Regions from separate parts of the Homo sapiens genome. Here regions 1 and 3 are each linked to region 2. Evidence: promoter capture Hi-C in 16 types of primary human blood cells and fetal thymus (Javierre and others, 2016). All regions are on one chromosome and are shown on one strand. The core of a region is centred on a gene start or on the middle of the fragment in contact, and the rest is flanking DNA. Distances in the headings are between cores, read along the strand shown.

Region 1 (2,954 bases), core at 438-2,937, 540 kb before region 2:
AAAGGATATGTAAATAAATACTTGCAATAAAGTGTTATAAATGTAATAATAGAAATATATACACTGGACAGAGGTAAAAGAGATTAACTCAGGGTGAACAGGTAGAGCGACCTAGAAAGGTAATCTTTGTCCTTAATTTTGCAAGTCAAAGAAGTATTTTAGGTAGATGTGGTCAGCTGACTTTTCTGGCAGAAGGAACAACATGGATAAAAACATAGCATGGTTCGAAACTGCAAGGAATGGTTGCTTCTGAGATTCCCAGCCAAGATTCTGTCATTATAATGTCTTGGGCCATGGTACAGATGTCCACATTGGTGCTGTCTGATCACTCAGTTGGAACTGAAGATTCATCACAATGTAGATAGATTTGAGCTTTTGATTTGGCTCAAGCTTAGAAGTGAATCCTTCAAATAGTTCTTTCTCTGCTTTATTTTATGTATTAGCAAAGGTTGACTCACTCTAAAGTCATGCCTTCCATCATTCTGGGAAGCTTTCTGAGCCAAGCCCAGCTTGGCTTAGGAATAAGTTATGCTTTGTGTTGTAATCATTGGCACTAAGTCCTATTCTTGACTTTCACACACACAGTAGGACTGCAGCTCCTGATGCGTATGGGAAAGAGGAATTGTGATAATACTCGCTATGGATTTACATTTTTCTGGGATTTTTTTTCTTGATAAAGATGCTAAAACCTTATTCTTGCTATTGAGATTTTGAGTTTACTTGTGCCACAAATCTCTGAGATGCTAGGTCCTAATTTGTCAAGCAAACTATGTTAACACATTTGACATTCTCTTCTGAGGAATGTCTTTGGCAGGTTTTCCTTTAGACTTCTGGACAGATCTATAAAACTCTATGGCTTTTGAAATACTTGCAAGTGACATATGTCAAAAGGTTGAATAAGGCACTAATAGTGCCCTTCGTGCTCCTAGGAAGCTGTCACTTGTGGTCACTGCAGACCAGGAGTGAGATCTTATGGGTTGCATTCCTAAATTTCTTTTTGTTTGCATGAACAGATTTTTTAATCTCTTTCCTTGTCTTTACATCCGTACACTGGGGATATAGCATACACCATCAACACATCTGCACAGCTTTGTCCACCGAGGGGTAGCAGAAAGTTGTTTATTATAGCACCAGTCATCTGCATGTCTACCACCTCAGAGTTAGAATAATGGTGGGGATTAGGACATATGGGGCAAAGGGTATTTATTGGCTGTGAAACAAAGGCTTTTTGTGGACTAGTAGAAAAAGTTGTGGCAATTTAAAAAATTATTGCAGAGTTAAAAGAAATCTTCCAAAAATATATATACACAGAAAAGTGCACATAACAGAGCCATACAGGTGATAAATTGTGACAATGTAAGCATACTTGTATAACCAGCAGTTTATTTACTTGTATCGCTGTCATTCTTCTCTTCCCTTTTTTTTTTTTTGAGACGGAGTCTCGCTCTGTCACCCAGGCTAGAATGCAGTGGTGCGATCTTGGCTCACTGCAAGCTCCGCCTCCCGGGTTCAAGTGATTCTCCTGCCTCAGCCTCCTGAGTAGCTGGGACTACAGGTGCTCGCCACCACACCTGGCTAATTTTTTTTTTTTTTGTATTTTTAGTAGAGAAAGGGTTTCACTGTGTTAGCCAGGATGGTCTCGATCTCCTGACCTCGTGATCTGCCCTCCTGGGCCTCCCAAAGTGCTGGGATTACAGGCGTGAGCCACCGCGCCCGACTTTTTTTTCTTTTTTCTTAAATATATTTTTGAGATAGAGTCTTGCCCTGTTGCCCAGGCTGGAGTGGAATGGCATGATCTCGTCTCACTGCAACCTCCGCCTCCCGGGTTCAAGTGATTCTTCTGCCTCAGCCTCTCAAGTAGCTGGGATTACAGGCACCCGCCATCACACCCAGCTAATTTTTGTATTTTCAGTAGAGACAGGGTTTTGCCATTTTTGGCCAGGCTGGTCTCAAACTCCTGACCTCAGGTGATCCACCCACCTCGGCCTCCCAAAGTGCTGGGATTACAGGCATGAGCCACTGCGCCCGGCCTCTTCCCTTTTAACTCTAAACTCAAATTTTTTTCTATACGTTTAATGATAGCAGTGACAGAGCATTTTAAATAAATTAGGAAGAAGTTAATGCCCATGTTTTCCTTGCTTTGTGGATCCTTGTTAAGATTGATTTTCATTGTTCAGAGACAGAGGACGAAGAGAGAATTTGGAAGATAAAGAATTGGATCAAAGATAAAAGATTTGAGGTGTTTGCTTTGACTTTTGAACTACAGAGTTTGGGTCTGGGAACCAGCACAGAAAAGATTTGATTGACCAAAAAAACTAGCTGGAAGCAGGCCTTGCCTCCAGTCACAGTGAAACTGAGTCTCTCACCAACAGTGCTGTGGTTTACAGCCTTCATCTTGAAGCATCTGGCTGTGGGGGGGGAAAGTGACATCATGGCCTGCCTTCTCCTGGACATGCTTGGTTCAGCTCAGATGTGGAATCCCAGAAGATCTGCAATGCGTGTTTCTAGCCTTGTTTTTAGTGTCAAGGCGAATGCCAGGCTGTAGCAGGCCATGTTGTTGTCTTTGTGTAATCCATTTGTATTCTAACAGTTTTCTTCTTTTTCTGCTGCTAGCTGCCAGGGAGGTAGAGTTGCCTCTGTTGATAAAGAGCAGATACAGAAGTTCACATCCAAACCTGAATGACCATTTTTAACTTGAAACACTTTTCCTGGGAGTTGATGCGCCAGAATCCTTCCCTTATTTGGTGCCTTGCTTAAATCTGAAGCTCGCACAAGGTAGCCAAAGCTCCCTGTGTGCTGGTTATTTGCTTTATGGCAAATAACCACAGCAGAGTGGTTTGTGAAACCGTCTTTGTGACCACATCTATCTTAAACTGAAGCTTCGTTCTCCTTTGGGTTCTTAGATTAGTTCGTGCTCCTCCCTTTCCTGAGAGATTCAGGGGTTTTCCTGTATG
Region 2 (3,049 bases), core at 345-2,844:
AGAGCCTCTGAAGAACTAAGGAGCAGAGCGGGGTTGGGGTTGGGGGAGACAGTCTTGGAGTGATGGGGGAAAAGAAAGATCATACAATCACATCCCCCACGTTCTTTCCTTCACCACCCATGGGAGTGGATAAGGGGATGGAGGAGGGTAAGCAAGGAGGAGGATGTGGTAACAGCTGATTCGTCCCCAGAGGTCACACTTTCCAACAATCAGCTGTTACTGGGGCGCAAGGCAGGAAGTTTCCTTAAAGGCGCAATGTCCTGAACGCAGGCTCAGAATTTTGGAGCTCCAAGTGAACCTTATCAATTACCTGATGGAGTGCGTATTTAACAGAAGGAAGGATCTCACCCTCCAGCCTCATCATTCCTGCTTAGTTACCCTCAGCCCCTATTTGGAGCTGAAGGAAAAGGCATGGATTTCAGTCCACATGTTCCTCTTTGGGGGACTTGCGGGGATTGATAAGGTAGGGCAGGTCTCCGGCTTGCCCCTTTAAAAACGCCGACCAGCAGCTTTTGCCAAGTCACTGGGTTCATTTCACTTTTTGCCCATCCCCCGCTCATCTAGACTCTGATTGGCCCCTGGGGAAGGAGCAGCCTGCTCATTGGTCTCCACCTTCGAATCTCTTCCCTAAGTAGGCCTGAGTCAGTGAAGAGCTTTGGAGGGCGGGACTGAATGGGGGTTAATCAGAGGATGCGATTGCTGACCCTTTGCACTTTGGCATGGCCCATCCCCTAATTTCTGACCAGAAGCCCTCCCTCTACCCTAAGGTGAGGACTGTGCTATGAATCTTTTGTTAGAAAGCTACCTCTTGGGAGGCTCTGGGGGCTCTTCTGGGACTGGGAAGAGACATCCAAGAAAAAAAGCCTCCTGTGGTTAGGAAGAGCCCCCAGGAGGAGTGGGCTGGGCGAGGCGAGCACCCTCCCTCCTCCAAAAACCCTGGAGAGCTCTCCAACGGCAGTCTCTGCTGCCCTGGGGGCTGACGCTCTGCCCACTCCTGCTCCTTGGTCCGCTCCACCTTTCCTTAAAGAGCTATAGCGTCCCGCAGAGGCCGGCGAGTCAGTTTGGGGAATGTCTAAAAGAAGCACTCACGACTCCAACAAGGAGGGGCTGTCGCCCTTTAAGGACTTCCCCGGGCTGGATTCCGAGCTCAGTTTAAAAATGCCAACTCACAGAGCGCGCTGGGTTCTGGGAACGACGGTGTCAGGCTGAGAACTACACGGACCAGCATGCATTGCAAACGCAGACGCCGTGGCTTTCGCCTGCTCTTTAGGACTCTCGTTTGACGTAGCGCTTTTCTAAGCGGGTCGCTGACGCGGAGGGCTGGGCCACACCTGTCCGTCTATTGGCCGGCTCCTCAGTGGGTGGGCGTGGCTTCGTGCAATTCCGCCCGGCAAAAGGGTGGCCTCCTTGCCAATCAGAGCCAGGGCGCCCGGAGAGGCGGGACCAGGGCGAGGCCCCGTCGGCCCCCGGGTGGGCGGGGCCACGTTGCCCAGCAGTGGGCGGTGATTGGCCCCGGGCCGTGCATTCGCAGCTCGTGCGTCACGACGCCGCCAGCTGATCGGAGCCTGGAGCCGGTGTGTGCTGGGTGCCGAGAAGAGACAGCGCCGCCGGCCGTGGGGAGCGGACGCAGTGATTTGCTCCCCCTCGTGCAGCAACCCCCACACCCAGCACCAGGTGGGTGTGAGCTGGCGACCCGGTCACGCAGCGGGGAGCCGCGGTAACGGGATGGAGGGTGAAAGTGGGGTCCGGGCGGCCACACCCAGCCCTTCCGGGAGGAGAAGGGGCGGCGGGGGCAGGGGCGCCTCGGGGAGAGGGGCCTGGACTGGCCGGGTTAGTGTGTCAGGAGCTACGAGGAAAGAGTCTGGGACGGGAGTCGTGGCGGAAGGGCTGGCGGAGTGGCGGGGGGCGGGGGGAGAGCCGAGGGGCCGGAGGGCCGGGGGCGGCTCACCCGGCGGCCCCCGGTCTGAGGATACAGGGGCCGGCCATCTAGCCTGGGGAGGGTCTGGACCCCCCGAGCGGGCGGCGAGGAGGTGCTTTGCCTCTGCCGGCGTTCACTGGGTCAGGGCCAGTTCAGCGCCCTGGCAGGGAAGGGGTCGCTGGGCGGGCCGGCCCCTCCTCTCGTTCTCTCCAGGGGATGTTATGTAAGGGGGGAGGGGAGAGGAGTAGGGGGCGGCGGTGCCGGGGCCTTATGCAACCCAAAGGTTAGGGTTTCACCGTGGTTGGGCGGGGGGAAGAGGGCAAGAGGAGGGCCTGGAAACTCTAACCCCCGCTCCCCAGACTAACTGGCCGTCTTGGGCCGAGAGAAGGTCACCTCTGCACCTCCCCCCAGCCTGTCCGATTGTGAGGCCCCTAGCCCAGGCCTGGCCCTGACTGCCTGGGAAGCCGGCTGGCTGGGTGGGGCGCCTGGGTTAGTCATCACTGGGCTGCCTCTCTCCCCACCTCTCGGCCAACTCTTGGCCCCTCCCCATGGCCTCCGGCGAGGCTGTCACCCCCACCTCCCTCCGGCCCTGGTTCCAGCCTCCAACTCCTTTGGCCTGTCATCCTGGCTGTCAGATTGGGCTAGGAGCTGTCAGAGTGCCAGAGGGTTGATGGAGCAGCTGGTCAGAGGGTCAGTGCCCTGGGCCCACCCCGCCCTGCAGCCAAGGGCACCTGCTTGGCACAGACTCTCAGCAGCTGCTGAGTCCTCTGGGTTGAACAGAGCTATCTCAGACAGAGGAAGGTCGGACGGAGTTGGACTGGTCACCCAGGGGAAGGAAGATACACAAAGTTCATGCCTCCCAAGAGGGTTTCGGAATTTGAACCGCACCCCGTATCCCCCAATCTTTCTTACCCTCTGAGTATAGAAATTCCAAGGCAAGACCGCCTTGGCCCCTCAGCCTGGCGTGGGCCATGCCCTTGGACTGAGTGTCAGCACGGACCCGCCCTCCCCAGCTCACATCCCCCGAGCCTGCCACGCCCCCAGCCCCCTCCCTGGGCCATGCTGCAGGGCCCGGCTTTTCCTGCTGATTCATGCGTTGGAACTGTGGGGGCGGGGCTTGGAACTTGGAAC
Region 3 (3,263 bases), core at 455-2,954, 690 kb before region 2:
GGCAAGACTCCACCCGGCTTTACTCATAACTTCTGCCCAGTCCCACTCCCTTGACCTGAATTAGTTTTGCTGTCATAAAGCCACCTCTTTTTTCCTTTAAAGGAATCCCTGACATCGTCATCCGTCTCCTGTGCCTTTCCGCTGGGTCAGCCTCCTCCCACCAAGCTTCTGACCCACTGTCATCCGCAGCTGCCACTCTAGCTGCAGAGCTCGACTGGGCTCTGGTTTCTCAGAAGAGCTCAGAGGACCTGGCTCCTCCCTCTTTGCTTCTGAACTGCATTTCTTTCCTTATTACTCAGTGTCCACACCCACGGTGGCTGCCTGGATAAAAATCTGCCCCTTTCTCCCGTCACCTTTCATGCCAGACAAAAGCCCCAGTGAGTAATGGTGACCTACCCAGGTCCAGCTAGCAGCTCTCCATTCCTGAGTGGCCTGGGGCAGAACAGGGTCCTGCGAGCTCCTGGATCCCAAGTCTGATTCCCTTTCCCTGTCTTCCCGCTTATCTGCTAAGCTTGTTTATTGGGGACCACTAAGCAAAGTGAATGATTATTCCTGTCTTTAACGAGGAGGGGTGGAGTTCCCTCTCCATCTTCACCCACTTCTGGGAGGCTTTCAGGGACTCAACACCCCACACTGATAGCACTTCCCCAGGCCTGGCCCAGCCAGCCAAAGAGGAGGACCAGGCCACTTCTCAACCTAGCTGATGCTTGGCAGCTTTGTGACCTTGGATACACCTTCTCTTGGGAGGTCAGACCCCATGATCCCAGCTCTTCCAGCTATGACATCATGTGAGGCTGCAATTTTTTTTTTTTTTTTTTTGAGACAGTATCTTGCTATGTTGCCCAGGCTGGCCTTGAAATCCTGGGCTCAGGCGATTCTCCTGTCTCAGCCTCCCACGTAGCTGGAACTTAGGGCGTGAGCCACCGCGCCCAGCTTCTGGAAAGGACATGAATGGGGAGGTGGAACTTGATTGGACCTGTTCTGTGAGTTCAGGAGAGGTCCTCTGACAACTCACTTGGGGTGGGGAAAGGAGGTAAAGAGTCCTGTGGAAACTTTTGGCTGTGGGGACCCCATTTCACTGATGATTGAATGGGTCCACCTCTGTCAAAGGAATTCAGAGTCCCACTCATCATTCAGACTGGGGGAATCAGGCTCAGTTGACTGGCCCAGCCTTAAATCCACTGAATTTGTTTTTATCTCTACATAGAAAAACGGAATTACAGTTGCTTCTCACTGTCCAATGGGGATTGGTTCCTGGAGCCTCCCTGAATACCTGTCCATGGATGATGCTCAAATCCCTTACATGTAACCTATGCACATCCTCAGGTATCCTTTAACTCATCTCTGCGCTACTCAAATACCTCATACCATGTAAATGCTGTGTAAATAGTTCTTGTGCTGTGTTGGTTTTTAAATTTGTATTATTTTTTCTTGTATATTTTCCATTTTTTTTTCCTGAATATTTTTGATCCACGGTTAGTTGCCTCCATGGGTGCGGACCCACGGACACGGAGGCTGCACCTTCTGAAATGAGCATGGCGGCGCCCTCTGGGTCCTCGTGTCGTCCTGTCTCTGGTGCTGCATCCAGCACGGTGGCGAACAGCAGAACTAATCTTTTGCAAGTTATCACAGTGGAGTGGAGTTCCGCTCTGTTTGCTTTTGCCCCGCTCTGGCTTACCAGAGGTCCCCTGGCCTTGGCCACAGCATACCTAGCCTAGTGCTTGGCACCTCAGGCACACAATAAATATTTATGAAATGGATCTTCTCTGGTATGTCTTGAGTGTACTAGTCTTCTGTTTTTTCCTCTTCATCCTGCAGCCAGCTTCCTCCCATGGGTCTTGTTTTAATGATGGTATGTGAAAAGCTCCTTAGCTGCTTGCAAAAGATGAGACATCAGGCTTGAAGGGTTGGGATTTCCTGTGAACATCTGTACTTTCGGCTTCACGCCCTTTCCCCCATCTCATGACTCAGGCTTTGTAGGAGTCAGGGCACTGATTTTCATAGCTCTTGGAGTTGATACTTTGTTAGGTGAGTGGTGGGGGATAGGAAGACAGTTCCACTAAGGGGATGTCTCTGGCTCAGCATATTAAAAAATTGGGGAATTGGTGCTTCTTATTGTGGTTGGTGAAAAAAAGAATAAAAGATTAAAAAATTGGAGGACATAATGGAATTTGAACTGGGAGGTGGGGTGCACAAGACTCGGGGAGGAAGACTGAAAACGGAAACCCTCTCGTGAGAAACTCACAATGATGGACAGCCCAGCTTTTCTCCTGCTCCAAGGTACTAAGCACCCAGAAGCCATGAAGAAACTTAAGGAACAGCCGGGCGCGGTGGCTCACGCCTGTCATCCCAGCCCTTTGGGAGGCCAAGACAGGCAGATCACTTGAGGTCAGGAGTTTGAGACCAGCCTGGCCAACATGGTGAAACCCCGTCTCTACTAAAAATACAAAAATTAGCCGGGCGTGGTGGTGCGTGCTTGTAATCCCAGCTACTCCGGAGGCTGAGGCAGGAGAATCACTTGAACCTGGGAGGCAGAAGTTGCAGTGAGCCAAGATCACACCACTGCACTCCAGCCTGGGCAACAGAGGGAGACTCTATCTCAAAAAAGAAAAAAAGAAAAAGAAACTTAAGGAACACCTTTTTAGAGATTGCTGGCCTTTGGATAATTCCCCAAACCTGCTAACCTTTCTGCTGAAACCAAAAGGACTTATTTCTCTTTCTCTTGAGTGAGTACATTTGCCAGCTTCTATCCTGGCTCCACCCCCTTGGAACAGGAAGCTGGGGCTAAAATATTAAACAGCCCTCCTATTCATTCCCCTCTTCTTTCATGCCCTCACATCGCCATTTATAGGTATCTCCCACCCCCACTGTCCATTCCTCAACTGGGGAAAGCTTGGTTGATGAGGTATTGTTTTTGGCCATTTTCAGGCTCCTGTAGGCAACAATAGGTCCAGAAACAGCCTCCCCCACCCTTTTTTTTTTTTTTTTTTTTTTTTTTTGGAGACGGAGTCTCTCTCTGTGGCCCAGGCTGGAGTGCAGTGGTGTCATCTCAGCTCACTGCAACCTCCACCTCCCGGGTTCAAGTGACTCTCCTGCCTTAACCACCCCCAGTAGCTGGGATTACAGGCGCCTGCCACCACGCCCAGCTAATTTTCTTTTTTCTTCCTTTTTTTTTTTTTTTTTTTAGTAGAGACAGGGTTTCACCACACCACGTTGGCCAGGATTGTCTCGAACTCCGGACCTCAAGTGATCCATGCACCTCG

Evidence for each region. Contacts are between HindIII fragments. The CHiCAGO score rates a contact against its expected background, and 5 or more counts as called.
Region 1: a contact is called between a fragment that was not itself captured here and the fragment with the promoter of MIR22HG in region 2, in 4 of 17 cell types (naive CD4 T cells, naive CD8 T cells, total CD4 T cells and 1 more). The highest score is 6.2, in naive CD4 T cells.
Region 3: a fragment that was not itself captured here is called in contact with the fragment with the promoter of MIR22HG in region 2 in 3 of 17 cell types (non-activated CD4 T cells, M2 macrophages and M0 macrophages); the score reaches 5.8 in non-activated CD4 T cells.

Annotation. Positions count from the first base shown.
Region 1 is chr17:2,259,790-2,262,743 of GRCh38, reverse strand. All of the region lies in intron 8 of SMG6 (SMG6 nonsense mediated mRNA decay factor), which reads left to right. Among named protein-coding and RNA genes, the nearest start is that of SMG6, 43 kb to the left of the region's middle. RefSeq lists an enhancer at 2,899-2,954. The HindIII fragment of the contact is 2,389 bases long and covers 493-2,881 here.
Region 2 is chr17:1,714,755-1,717,803 of GRCh38, reverse strand. MIR22HG (MIR22 host gene) reads left to right here and starts at 1,594. Exons shown (of 3, transcript NR_028505.2): 1 at 1,594-1,674. It also overlaps a transcript of WDR81 not described here. RefSeq lists an enhancer at 806-1,447. The HindIII fragment of the contact is 4,707 bases long and covers 1-3,049 here.
Region 3 is chr17:2,404,070-2,407,332 of GRCh38, reverse strand. It overlaps LOC284009 (a long non-coding RNA gene), which reads left to right. Exons shown (of 3, transcript NR_028335.1): 3 at 103-352. Among named protein-coding and RNA genes, the nearest start is that of MNT, 4.6 kb to the right of the region's middle. The HindIII fragment of the contact is 2,381 bases long and covers 514-2,894 here.